2 separate regions of the Homo sapiens genome follow, and region 1 is linked to region 2. Evidence: promoter capture Hi-C in human tissues and cell types (Jung and others, 2019). All regions are on one chromosome and are shown on one strand. Each heading gives the region's core, a stretch centred on a gene start or on the middle of the fragment in contact. The rest is flanking DNA. Distances are from core to core; before and after follow the strand shown. Region 1 overlaps CNTLN (centlein). Region 2 holds the start of CNTLN (centlein).

Region 1 (5,934 bases), core at 3,100-5,599, 82 kb after region 2:
TGGTGGATAAGCTTTTTGATGTGCTGCTGGATTTGGTTTGCCAGTATTTTATTAAGGATTTTTCTGTGGATGCTCATCAGGGATATTGGTCTAAAATTCTCCTTTTTTGTTGTGTCTCTGCCCGGCTTTGGTATCAGGATGATGCTGGCCTCATAGAATGAGTTAGGGAGGATTCCCTCTTTTTCTACTCATTGGAATAGTTTCAGAAGGAATGGTACCAGCTCCTCCTTGTACTTCTGGTAGAATTCAGCTGTGAATCTATCTGCTCCTGGACTTTTTTGGTTGGTAGGCTATTAATTATTGCCTCAATTTCAGAGGCTGTGTTTGGTCTATTCAGGGATTCAACTTCTTCCTGGTTTAGTCTTCGGAGGGTGTATGTGTCCAGGAATTTATCCATTTCTTCTAGATTTTCTAGTTTATTTGCATAGATGTGTTTATAGTATTCTCTGATGGTAATTTGTATTTCTGTGGGATCGGTGGTGATATCCCCTTTATCATTTTTTATTGCGTCTATTTGATTCTTCTCTCTTTTCTTCTTTATTAGTCTTGCTAGCGGTCTATCAATTTTGTGGATCTTTTCAAAAAACCAGCTGCTAGATTCATTGATTTTTCTGAAGTGTTTTTTGTGTCTCTATCTCCTTCAGTTCTGCTCTGATCTTACTTATTTCTCGCCTTCTGCTAGCTTTTGAATGTGTTTGCTCTTGCTTCTCTAGTTCTTTTAATTGTGATGCTAGGGTGTCAATTTTAGATCTCTTGTGCTTTCTCCTGTGGACATTTAGTGCTATAAATTTCCCTCTACACACTGCTTTAAGTGTGTCCCAGAGATTCTGGTATGTTGTGTGTTTGTTCTCATTGGTTTCAAAGAGCATCTTTATTTCTGCTTTCATTTCATTATGTATCCAGTAGTCATTCAGGAGCAGGTTGTTCAGTTTCCATGTAGTTGACCGGTTTTGAGTGAGTTTCTTAATCCTGAGTTCTAGTTTGATTGCACTGTGGTCTGAGAGACAGTTTGTTATAATTTCTGTTATTTTACATTTGCTGAGGAGTTCTGTACTTCCAACTATGTGGTCAATTTTGGAATAAGTGCGATGTGGTGCTGAGAAGCATGTATATTCTGTTGACTTGGGGTGAAGAGTTCTGTAGATGTCTCTTAGGTCTGCTTGGTGCAGAGCTGAGTTCAATTCCTGGATATTTTTGTTAACTTTCTGACTCGTTGGTCTGTCTAATGTTGACAGTGGGGTGTTATCGTCTCCCATTATTATTGTGTGGGAGTCTAAGTCTCTTTGTAGGTCTCTAAGGACTTGCTTTATGAATCTGGGTGCTCCTGTATTGGGTGCATATATATTTAGGATAGTTAGCTCTTCTTGTTGAATTGATCCCTTTACCATTATGTAGTGGCCTTCTTTGTCTCTTGATCTTTGTTGATTTAAAGTCTGTTTTATCAGACACCAGGATTGCAACCCCTGCCTTTTTTTGTTTTCCATTTTCTTGGTAGATCTTCCTCCTTCCCTTTATTTTGAGCGTATGTGTGTCTTTGCAGGTGATATGGGTCTTCTGAATACAGCACACTGATGGGTCTTGACTCTTTATCCAATTTGCCAGTCTGTGTCTTTTAATTGGAGCATTTAGCCCATTTACATTTAAGATTAATATTGTTATGTGTGAATTTGATCCTGTCATTATGATTTTAGCTGGTTATTTTGCTTATTAGTTGATGCAGTTTCTTCCTAGCCTCGATGGTCTTTACACTTTGGCATGTTTTTGCAGTGACTGGTACCGGTTGTTCCTTTCCATGTTTAGTGCTTCCTTCAGGAGGTCTTGTAGGGCAGGCCTGGTGGTGACAAAATCTCTCAGCATTTGCTTGTCTGTAAAGTATTTTATTTCTCCTTCACTTATGAAGCTTAGTTTGGCTGGATATGAAATTCTGGGTTGAAAATTATTTTCTTTAAGAATGTTGAATATAGGCACCCACTCTCTTCTGGCTTGCAGAGTTTCTGCCAGGAGATCTGCTGTTATTCTGATGGGCTTCCCTTTGTGGGTAACCCGACCTTTCTCTCTGGCTGCCCTTAATATTTTTTCCGTCATTTCAACTTTGGTGAATCTGACAATTATGTGTCTTGGAGTTGCTCTTCTCGAGGAGTATCTTTGTGGCGTTCTCTGTATTTCCTGAATTTGAATGTTGGCCTGCCTCACTAGGTTGGGGAAGTTCTTCTGGATAATATCCTGCAGAGTGTTTTCCATCTTGGTTCCATTGTCCCCATCATTTTCAGGTACACCAATTAGATGTAGATTTGGTCTTTTCACATAGTCATGTATTTCTTGGAGGCTTTGTTCATTTCTTTTTACTTTTTTCTCTAAACTTCTCTTCTCACTTCATTTCATTCATTTGATCTTCAATCACTGATACCCTTTCTTCCAGTTGATCAAATTGGCTACTGAAACTTGTGCATTCATTACGTAGTCCTCGTGCCATGGTTTTCAGCTCCATCAGGTCATTTAAGGACTTCTGTACACTGGTTATTCTAGTTAGCCATTTGTCTAATCTTTTTTGAAGGTTTTTAGCTTCTTTGTGATGGGTTCGAACTTCCTCCTTTAGCTGGGAGAAGTTTGATTGTCTGAAGCCTTCTTTTCTCAACTCGTTAAAGTGATTCTCCATCCAGCTTTGTTCCGTTGCTGGCGAGGAGCTGCATTCCTTTGGAGGAGGAGAGGAGCTCTGATTTTTAGAATTTTCAGCTTTTCTGCTCTGTTTTTTCCCCATCTTTGTAGTTTTATCTACCTTTGGTCTTTGATGATGGTGACGTACAGATGGGGTTTTGGTGTGGATGTCCTTTCTGTTTGTTAGTTCTCCTTCTAACAGTCAGGACCATTAGCTGCATGTCTGTTGGAGTTTATTGGAGGTCACTGCAGAACCTCTTTGCCTGGGTGTCAGCAGCGGAGGCTGCAGAACAGCGAATTTTGCTGAACAGCAAATGTTGCTGCCTGATCATTCCTCTGGAAGCTTCATCTCAGAGGAGTACCCAGACATGTGAGGTGTCAGTCTGCCCCTACTAGGGGGTGCCTCCCAGTTAGGCTACTCGGGGGTCAGGGAACCACTTGAGGAGGCAGTTTGACCATTCTCAGATCTCACACTCCATACTGGGAGAACGACTGCTCTCTTCAAAGCTGTCAGACAGGGACATTTAAGTCTGCAGAGATTTCTGCTGCCTTTTGTTTGGCTATGCCCTGCCCCCAGGGGTGGAGTCTGTGGAGGCTGGCAGGCCTCCTTGAACTGCGGTGGGCTCCACGCAGTTCGAGCTTCTTGGCCGCTTTGTTTACCTACTCAAGCCTCAGCAATGGTGGGCACCCCTTCTCCAGCCTCGCTGCCACCTTGCAGTTCGATCTCAGACTGCTGTGCTAGCAATGAGCGAGGCTCCGTGGGTGTGGGACCCTCTGAGCCAGGCGCGGGGTATAATCTCCTGGTGTGCCGTATGCTAAGACCGTTGGAAAAGCGCAGTATTAGGGTGGGAGTGACCTGATTTTCCAGGTGCTGGTTGTCACAGCTTCCGTTTGCTAGGAAAGGGAAATCCCTGACCCCTTACACTTCCCGGGTGAGGCAGTGCCTCACCCTGCTTTGGCTCACATTCGGTGGGCTGCACCCACTGTCCTGCACCCACTATCTGACAAGCCCCAGTGAGTTGAACCCGTTACCTCAGTTGGAAATGCAGAAATCACCCATCTTCTGAGTTGCTCACTCTTGGAGCTGTAGACTGGAGCTGTTCCTATTTGACCAACTTGGAACTGTCCCCCAGGCTATTTTTAATAATTAGTGGTTAAGAACACAAGCCGTTGAGTCAGGTAACTGGATTTGTAATCCTGGCTTGCTAGTTGTGTAAATTTTGAAGATGTGGTTTGCTTTCTTTTTAATATTCTGTACTTTTTTTGTAGACTTGTTAATACTTTTTTCTTGTGCTCACTTTCCTATTTTCAGTTCTTTTCCTCCTCCTGTTTGGTAATGAAAACTCAATTCTGGAAAATTAGAATGGTAAAAGGGAATAAAGGCAAGATGATTTTTAGATTTTATTGACATGTTTTTATTGGCCGGTTTATTAAGATTTTATTGATACATTTATCAAGGATATGTGTGCTATATCCTTGATACACTTGGTTCAAAGATTTAATTTCATAGTAAAGGAGAGATTGTCTTATTTTTATTTCTATTTCTTATTTTATTTCAATTTTTAGAGTTAAAGTTTACATGTTTGCATGTTTGATAGGGAGACTATTTCTGTAAGTTTATGTTATATTCTCTCACTACTGGGACCACCTCCCTCCTGCTCCTTTCCACTCTAAAGCACTTGGGTTACACAGCTGCTATATGGTTGTACCCTGTCCCATGTGTATTAAGCCAACATAGGCTGCAAAGGGGTTGCAGTTTGGAGCATGATAGTAGCGTGGCTGTTTGGAGACCCCAGAACTGTAGCTGCCAGAATTATGCCATCTGGTAGCAATGCTGCCAGGCAGTTCCACCCAGGGCATAAATGTATTTTTGCTGAGCACTTTTCGTGTTGCAAGAGCCATGATTGCCTAGGCAGGGATGTGGATGGATGGTCATGGGAACTAACTGAAAGGTGTTTAATTGGAACCACTCTAATGTTCAAGGTGAGAGTACTTGCAATAAACATGAAGAATCACATTCAAACTTTTACAATAGATGCAGGAAGCTTAACCAAATAGTCTTTTAACTTTTATGAAGATTTTTAAATTAAATAATTGTGAGATTATAGTAAGGAATAGTTACTTTAAAAATTTAATCTTTATACACATGGCAGAAGGTGGTACAGAAACATAGCTTTTGTTTTTAAGGTAAAATAATTGTGATCACCTTTATTTGTTGAGAGTTTATTTCTGTTTTCTTAAAAATTCCCAGAACATTGAACGTAATTCAACATTCCATGGGGAAGAAAGTATTATGCAGCTTGCATGTGTGCATATCTGCATATCGGAGCACAAAATATTGACATGATAATTGTAGTCAAGCCTGAGTGAACAGTGGCCTGTGGGAATTCAGCTGGTGTTGTACCAACTGGATGGCTGCTCAGGACACAGTTTGAAATGCAAGGTGCAAGTTAGCACTTTATTCAGCACAGGCAGGCATCATTTAAAAATCCTTGGGGGCAACCCTGGTGATGTGCAGATGTTAAAACAGTCTGTTCTGAAGTGCTGATTTTCAAACACTGGAAGAAACTTCTAGATTCTGGGTGAAAAATATTTGCACAATCATGAAAGGCATATAATGCACAATCATAAAAGGCATATAATACACAATCTTTTCCTACTCTTTTATGTTGTTTTACATAATAAATGTTGAGTATATGCAGAAATATCTGGACAAATAGTTAAAAGAGATGAAATATAAGAAAATCAGGAAATAGTCACTTAATTTCTAACTATAAAACAGAAAAAGGTTTTGTTTTGAGTTTCAGCTTTGTATATTTAGAAATGGTGTTGAATGAGTATCTGATATATAAAGAGTATCTGATCTTATTTAATACTATATTTAATATAAGCAGATGTGTTCTTTTGAATTGTTGCTTCTTTGTTTAAAGGGTTCATCTGTACTCCATAATTTACAGATTCAGATTCACATCTTAGCCTGATAATCTTCTGCATTTTAGTCTGATTGAATAAGGAAAAAAATGTCCATCATTTGTCGTTTGCCAACTTCTCCAGCACAAGTTTTGGCTTTCAAATATAATTTTAAACATGTATTTTATACTGGAAATTAAATATAATAGTTCTAAATTCTGGATTATACAATAAAAACTCAGTTTTGTATAAAAGCAAAGTAGATATATTAACTATACTTGAGCCTTTAAAACATTTTATATCAAAGTTTTTACATGAATTAAGATCTGTTGAATTATTTTTATTCCACATATTAAAGTTTTCTTTTTT
Region 2 (5,836 bases), core at 1,254-3,753:
AAATGGAGGATATCCATACAATGGTATATTTTCAGCTATAAAAAAGAATGAAGTACTAATACATGCCATAACATAGATGAACCTTGAAAACATTATGCTAATAAAAGAAAACAGACACAAAAGGCCACATATTATATGGTTCCATTGATATGAAATATCCCAAACAGGCAAAACCGTAGAGACATAAAGGGAATTAATGGTTGCTTGGGGCTCGGGGGCAGTGAGAATGTGGAGAGACTAATGTGGGTATGTGGTTTCCGCCTCCGGTGATGAAAATATTCTGGAACCAGATAGTGGTGGTGGTTGCCTAACATGGTGAATGTAGTTAATGCTGCTGAATTGTTTTTTATTTGTAGCCATTTTATTTATTTATTTATTTTTTGAGACAGTCTTGCTTTATCACCCAGGCTGGAGTGCAGTGGTATGATCTTGGCTGTTTGCAACCTCTGCCTCCCGTGTTCCAATGATTCTCCTGCCGTGGCCTCTCTAGTAGCTGGGATTACGGGAATGCACCACCACTCCCAGCTAATTTTTGTATTTTTAGCAGAGACGGGGTTTCACTATGTTGTCCAGGCTGGTCTCGAACTCCTGGTCTCAAGTGATCCACCAGCCTCGGCCTCCCAAAGTGCTGGGATTGCAGTCGTGAGCTACCACGCCTGGCCTATTTGTAGCCATTTAAAATGCCTACGATGGTAAATTTTATGTTGTGTATTTTGTGTATTTTGCTCCAATAAAGACAAAATTTAAAAAAATGCCTAGTCAAAGAGTCAGGATATTATCCTTTTGGGAGGTCACATATACATATTTATACCACTGCTTTTCAAAAGGATCTTTTTATGATCAGGTGAAATGATGTCCTTTTGAGTGAATGACATACAGCAATTAAAAATGTGCATTAATACTGATTTGGGGCCAAACACGTAACTTATGTGGTTAGACTTCCCAGTCTTAAGTCTAGTGAAATCTCACAGACTATCAAGACCAAATGTTGTATTTCAAGTCACAGGTGTGGAGACAGGGTAGCGATCAAAGTACAGGTTTTCAGAGTTAAGTGGAATTCAGTGAATTCAAAGCCTAGCTTTTCTGATACCAGACATGGCACTTCAGAGAAGTTACAGTAACCTTGCAAGTCTGTTTCCTCACTAGTAAAAATGGAGATATATAATAATCTAATTGAAGGTGACATATGTATTAAGTGAGTTCATATATGAAAAGTGCTTAGCACTGGACTCAGCATATGGTAAATGTTCAGTAGGTTAGCTAGTTCTAAGACAGGCTTATAAACATACTTTTTCTAATGTACTCTTTAATAAGTTTTTGTGAGGAATTCACCTTCAGTTTGAAAGAAGTCCACTTATCTTGGTTGCCTTGGCAGGATTCTAATTGGGAGGGTGTCTTTTGGCATCCTGACTAGATTCTCATGCAGAGATGGTGATATTTTGGTTAAATGAAGTTAACAGTAAAGTGGTCATCTCTCTACTTCTGCTCTCAACCCCCATCTCAGCTTTCCCCAAGTATTCTGGAACCCTTTCTGAAGAAGAGGGCAGTTCTAACTTTCAGGGATGTTCTGGTGCCAGCTCAATATGCATCTCATTAATCTTATCAATAGTAACAAAGTATTTGAAGGGCAAAGAAAGATACGATTACTACCTATTTGAAGTTTATAAAGAAAGCCAGAAGAAAAAGAAAAAAAAGAGAACAAAAGATAAAGTAGGTCTTGTTTCTTCATCCACGCTCCAAATTACTGATTTCAAACTGCTCCAAGGACCCAAACTGTTCAGCAATGTGGGCTACACTTCCTCTGATATCCAGCCAACGCATAAAGAAGCTGACATAAAAACTCAAAGGAAATCATGACTCCTGCAAAACAAAAGACAAAGGGTGTACAAAGGATCATCATTCAAGTTGGAAACCTGCTTGATAGTCCCAGATCAGCACAAGGCTTTCCACATCTCCTTGACATTAGTCAGCTGGATGTCAGCTGTACTAAAGCAGTTTTGCCAAGGGGTGTGAAGAAAACACTTAAGTGTAAAACGTATTCCTTGATCCTCAAGGAGCTTACAACAGGGCTGGGGAGATTAGCCGTGTAACTGACACTCCAGGGCGGTCAATGAAACGTGTCACACGAGTTGGCAGGGGCCTTGAAGGAGAGGGATTTCACAGTTAAGGATCATTTGGGGCTGGGGGCTTGTCAAGGAAGGCTTTAAGAGGTGGGATGTAAGTGGCAGGCAGGGCTTTAGGTGGGCGGGAAATCCAGGCGATCCTGGCCAAGGACTCAGGCACAGGACGCTGGGATGGCCTGCCCGGCGGACCGGCCTTACCCTTTCGGGCCACGGCGCGTGCGTACCCCAAGGCTCGCGCTGGGCGCATTGCCCGCGGGAAGCCGGCCAGGACCAGAGAACACGGGACACCGCGGGCCAAGGCGGGAAAAGCCTCGCGCATGCGCGGTTCGGCGTTCCGGGCTCGCCGGGTTGGGGAAAGGGAGGTGGAGTTTCCAACAGGGAACTTGACCCGTTAGCAGCCGCAGCCATGGCGGCGCGTTCGCCTCCCTCACCGCACCCTTCGCCCCCAGCGCGACAGCTGGGCCCCAGGTCCCCACGTGTTGGGCGGGGAGCTGAAGTACACGCAATGCGCAGCGAGGCCTCGGGTTTTGCCGGCGCAGCGCGGGAGGTGGTCGCGGACGAAAGTGATAAAATCTGGGTGGGTGAAGAAGGGTCAGGGGGCCGGCGAGGGCCTGGGGGGGCAGCTCCGGCTCATGCTCCCCTCCTCAGCGCGCCCATGGGGTCCAGACGGCTAGAGGGCATCTCGGTAGAGGAGGCGATGGTGACCCGGACGCAGCTGCTGGAGGAAGAGCTGAGCAGCCTAAAGGAGGAGTTGGCCCTGTGTCAGGTATCGAGGAGTCTCGCAGTCCCCCTTTCCCCACCACAGCGGGGCCGGGACCCGTGGGGAGGCGCGCCTTTCTCCCTCTGCCTTGGGACCTACCCCGCCCAGCGACGCTCCCTGGCAGATGCACACCCTGCTTCGCTCGCGGCCGGGGGCTGGAGGGACGCGGCTGCGCCCGGCTCCCCAAACCCGGGCCCCTGCCCCTTTCCGAACTGCGGCCAGACAGGCTTCGCCTCCGCGCCCGGGTTTGGTTTTGGTCACTTGGATACTCGCAGTCGCATCCTCTCCGCTTCCCCCCCAAGCCCAAGTTCTTGGTGGTGACGGTAGCTGATACCTGCCGGGGGCCCAGGAGTGACATGCAGTCCACTAGTTGAAATGAACAGGAAAGTGTAAACACTTCGGTTAGAGTAAAATCCATCGATGAAGGAGCCTGTTTTTAAAATTTCAAACCCACACTTGGCTTTGTTTTTACCCAGTCAAACTTAAGTTGTAAACACAGACGAGTAACGTTTAGAAAGTCTCAGAGCCGGGAACTTAACAATAGATGATGCTTGGTACTTGTTTATTAACCAGCTATGGTAATTCCGCGGTCCTTGAGTGAGAAATCACATTTTCATGTGATCTTGCCAGTGAAAAACATTTGCTAAATCAATTGCATTAAAATTACTTTCCTGTTTGTAGAGTTTTTGTAAGGATGGACTTGACTATACTCATGTTCAAAGAGATTGAATTTTCCTTTAGTTTTGCATCCTTACCATCATCTCTTTTGATTTTACCAGAACCTTTAGATAGGGTTGGGAGATTGGATGTGGGAAACTCACTGAACAGTAGATCTTTAAGTCACTCTGTCTTCAACTTAGAAACCAATTAGGAGCTGCTGAACATCAAAGTAACTTTGTGAACAGTATCATCAGTTTAATAAAACAGTTCATGAAATTCATTCTCTGTCGCCCAGGCTGGAGTGCAGTGGTGCAGTCTCAGCTCACTGCAAGCTCCGCCTCCCGGGTTCACGCCATTCTCCAGCCTCAGCCTCCCGAATAGCTGGGACTACAGGTGTCCGCCACCACGCCTGGCTAATTTTTTGTATTTTTAGTAGAGATGGGGTTTCACCGTGTTAGCCAGGACAGTCTCGATCTCCTGACCTCGTGGTCCGCCAGCCTTGGCCTTCCAAAGTGCTGGGATTACAGAAATTCATTCTCTCATAGTTTGTTCTGTTGGATTCTTTTGCCCATTTTATAGGTCCTTGCTGACTGAGTGAAGGGTGTAAAAATGGGACCATCTTCAAATTGAATGTGCCTTTGGTTAAACAAGGTTGGGACATTTAATATGGTGCCCTCTTTTCGTTTTACCATTTTTCTGTTCTTCGTTGGATAAGGAGCAAAGGGATAAATAAATGACAACAATGAATTGAAGCATTTGTCATCTGCAGACCTCACCCTTTGGGGAGTTTTAAGATGTGAACCCATGATAAAGGCCTTTGATACTCTGAGTCCTAATCTAAGACACTCTTTGGCATATTTTCCGCACTCTTTCCTCCCACTTCTGCCTCCCCACATAGTTAGGCCTTTAGCTGGCTAAAGAGCTAAGATACTTTTTTATGACCGACTTGGTTAAGGAAGTCAGTCTATTGGAAACAGCCTGATGAACCTCTTCCCACAAATACTTACATTCTTTAAAAATGTGGCTCCAAACATGGTGTTGGCTTTTGTGACCTCGGACATATATAGACTAGGAAAATGATTGACATACTCTTGGCAAATGTAAGAATACAGAGATGGTCATAATAGTCTAGAATGATGATCTCTTAGATTTTGTAATATTAATACTCTTATATAATTGTAGGCAGTATCCCGCACCATAAAAATCTTAGTCAAATCAGACTCCTGCTCTTCGGGAATCTTGGGGAAAAATAGTAATTGAACTCCCAATTGTTTTGTAAAAAGCATTTAGGTGATTAAATATTCACTTTTATATCTTTTAAAGTATACTCTCCCGCTTATTTATTCAGCTAGAGATCACAGTACCCAAGAATACATAGCATTAAAACTGCTGAAAATTACAACTCGAAGTAAAATTTTGTATCTCAATCTAGTAAGTACACACATATACAAACATATATTTTCAGAAAGAATACATGCCCTAATACTGTGTGGGCTGATATTTTTTCAGTTCTATTCCTTTAAAAAATGCTGTCCAGATCTAAATTAATTTCAGAACCCAACAAGGCTTGAAACATACAGTTTAGGAAAAAGAACACTGCTAATTAGTCCATGGTCATAAGTAGTAGCTTCATTTAATTTGTTTTGCTTTCACATTCAACTTATGGGAATTCAGTGATGTGTGCTTGGTGAAGTTTGAGTAATTCCCCATACCATTCTACATCATTGGAATGCCTCAGAATAAGCATGTAATAGAAAGCAATCAAATGTTTCTCTTAATATCAGCATCTCATCCCACTCTAAGTGATTGTATTATCTAATTAAACTTTAAAAAAATATGGCCCCCTGATTAGCAACTGAACTATAAATAATGCTTATATGAAGAAAAAGTGATTAATTTCAATGAGGGAAGAAAAGCTATCTGTATTGGACTTACTGAGGGTAGTAGGTAAGCTTCCAAATGTAGCTTTTTCCTAAGGAATTTTTCAAGGGTGTTCCAAAGGGTAATTTTGCATCCATGGCATTTAATGCCCTATTTCACTAATTTAGAACCTAACTCCACTACACTTTTAATTTTGATTATATATTTCAAGAATGTGTTCTGTTTGTGATAAAGGATGCTGGGGCATGTGTATTTGTACATTTATCACCATTTATAGAGTGAGATGAGAAAAAAGTGTTATGTTTACATAGAAAGAGTAATATGTTTATATAGCATTTATAAAGCTTATTTTTTGGTATCAGGCAAAAATATTGACTAAACCTATAAGCCAGTTTTAGGAAAAAAATTAGGG

Evidence for each region. Contacts are between HindIII fragments. The study calls those that stand out against the background at their distance.
Region 1: a contact is called between a fragment that was not itself captured here and the fragment with the promoter of CNTLN in region 2, in 2 of the 25 tissues and cell types used here (H1 embryonic stem cells and lymphoblastoid cells).

What each region holds. Positions count from the first base shown.
Region 1 is chr9:17,212,416-17,218,349 of GRCh38, forward strand. All of the region lies in intron 2 of CNTLN (centlein), which reads left to right. Among named protein-coding and RNA genes, the nearest start is that of CNTLN, 80 kb to the left of the region's middle. The HindIII fragment of the contact is 6,789 bases long and covers 956-5,934 here.
Region 2 is chr9:17,132,537-17,138,372 of GRCh38, forward strand. It overlaps CNTLN (centlein), which reads left to right and starts at 2,504. Exons shown (of 26, transcript NM_017738.4): 1 at 2,504-2,889. The coding sequence starts at 2,530. RefSeq lists an enhancer at 2,785-3,348. The HindIII fragment of the contact is 19,584 bases long and covers 1-5,836 here.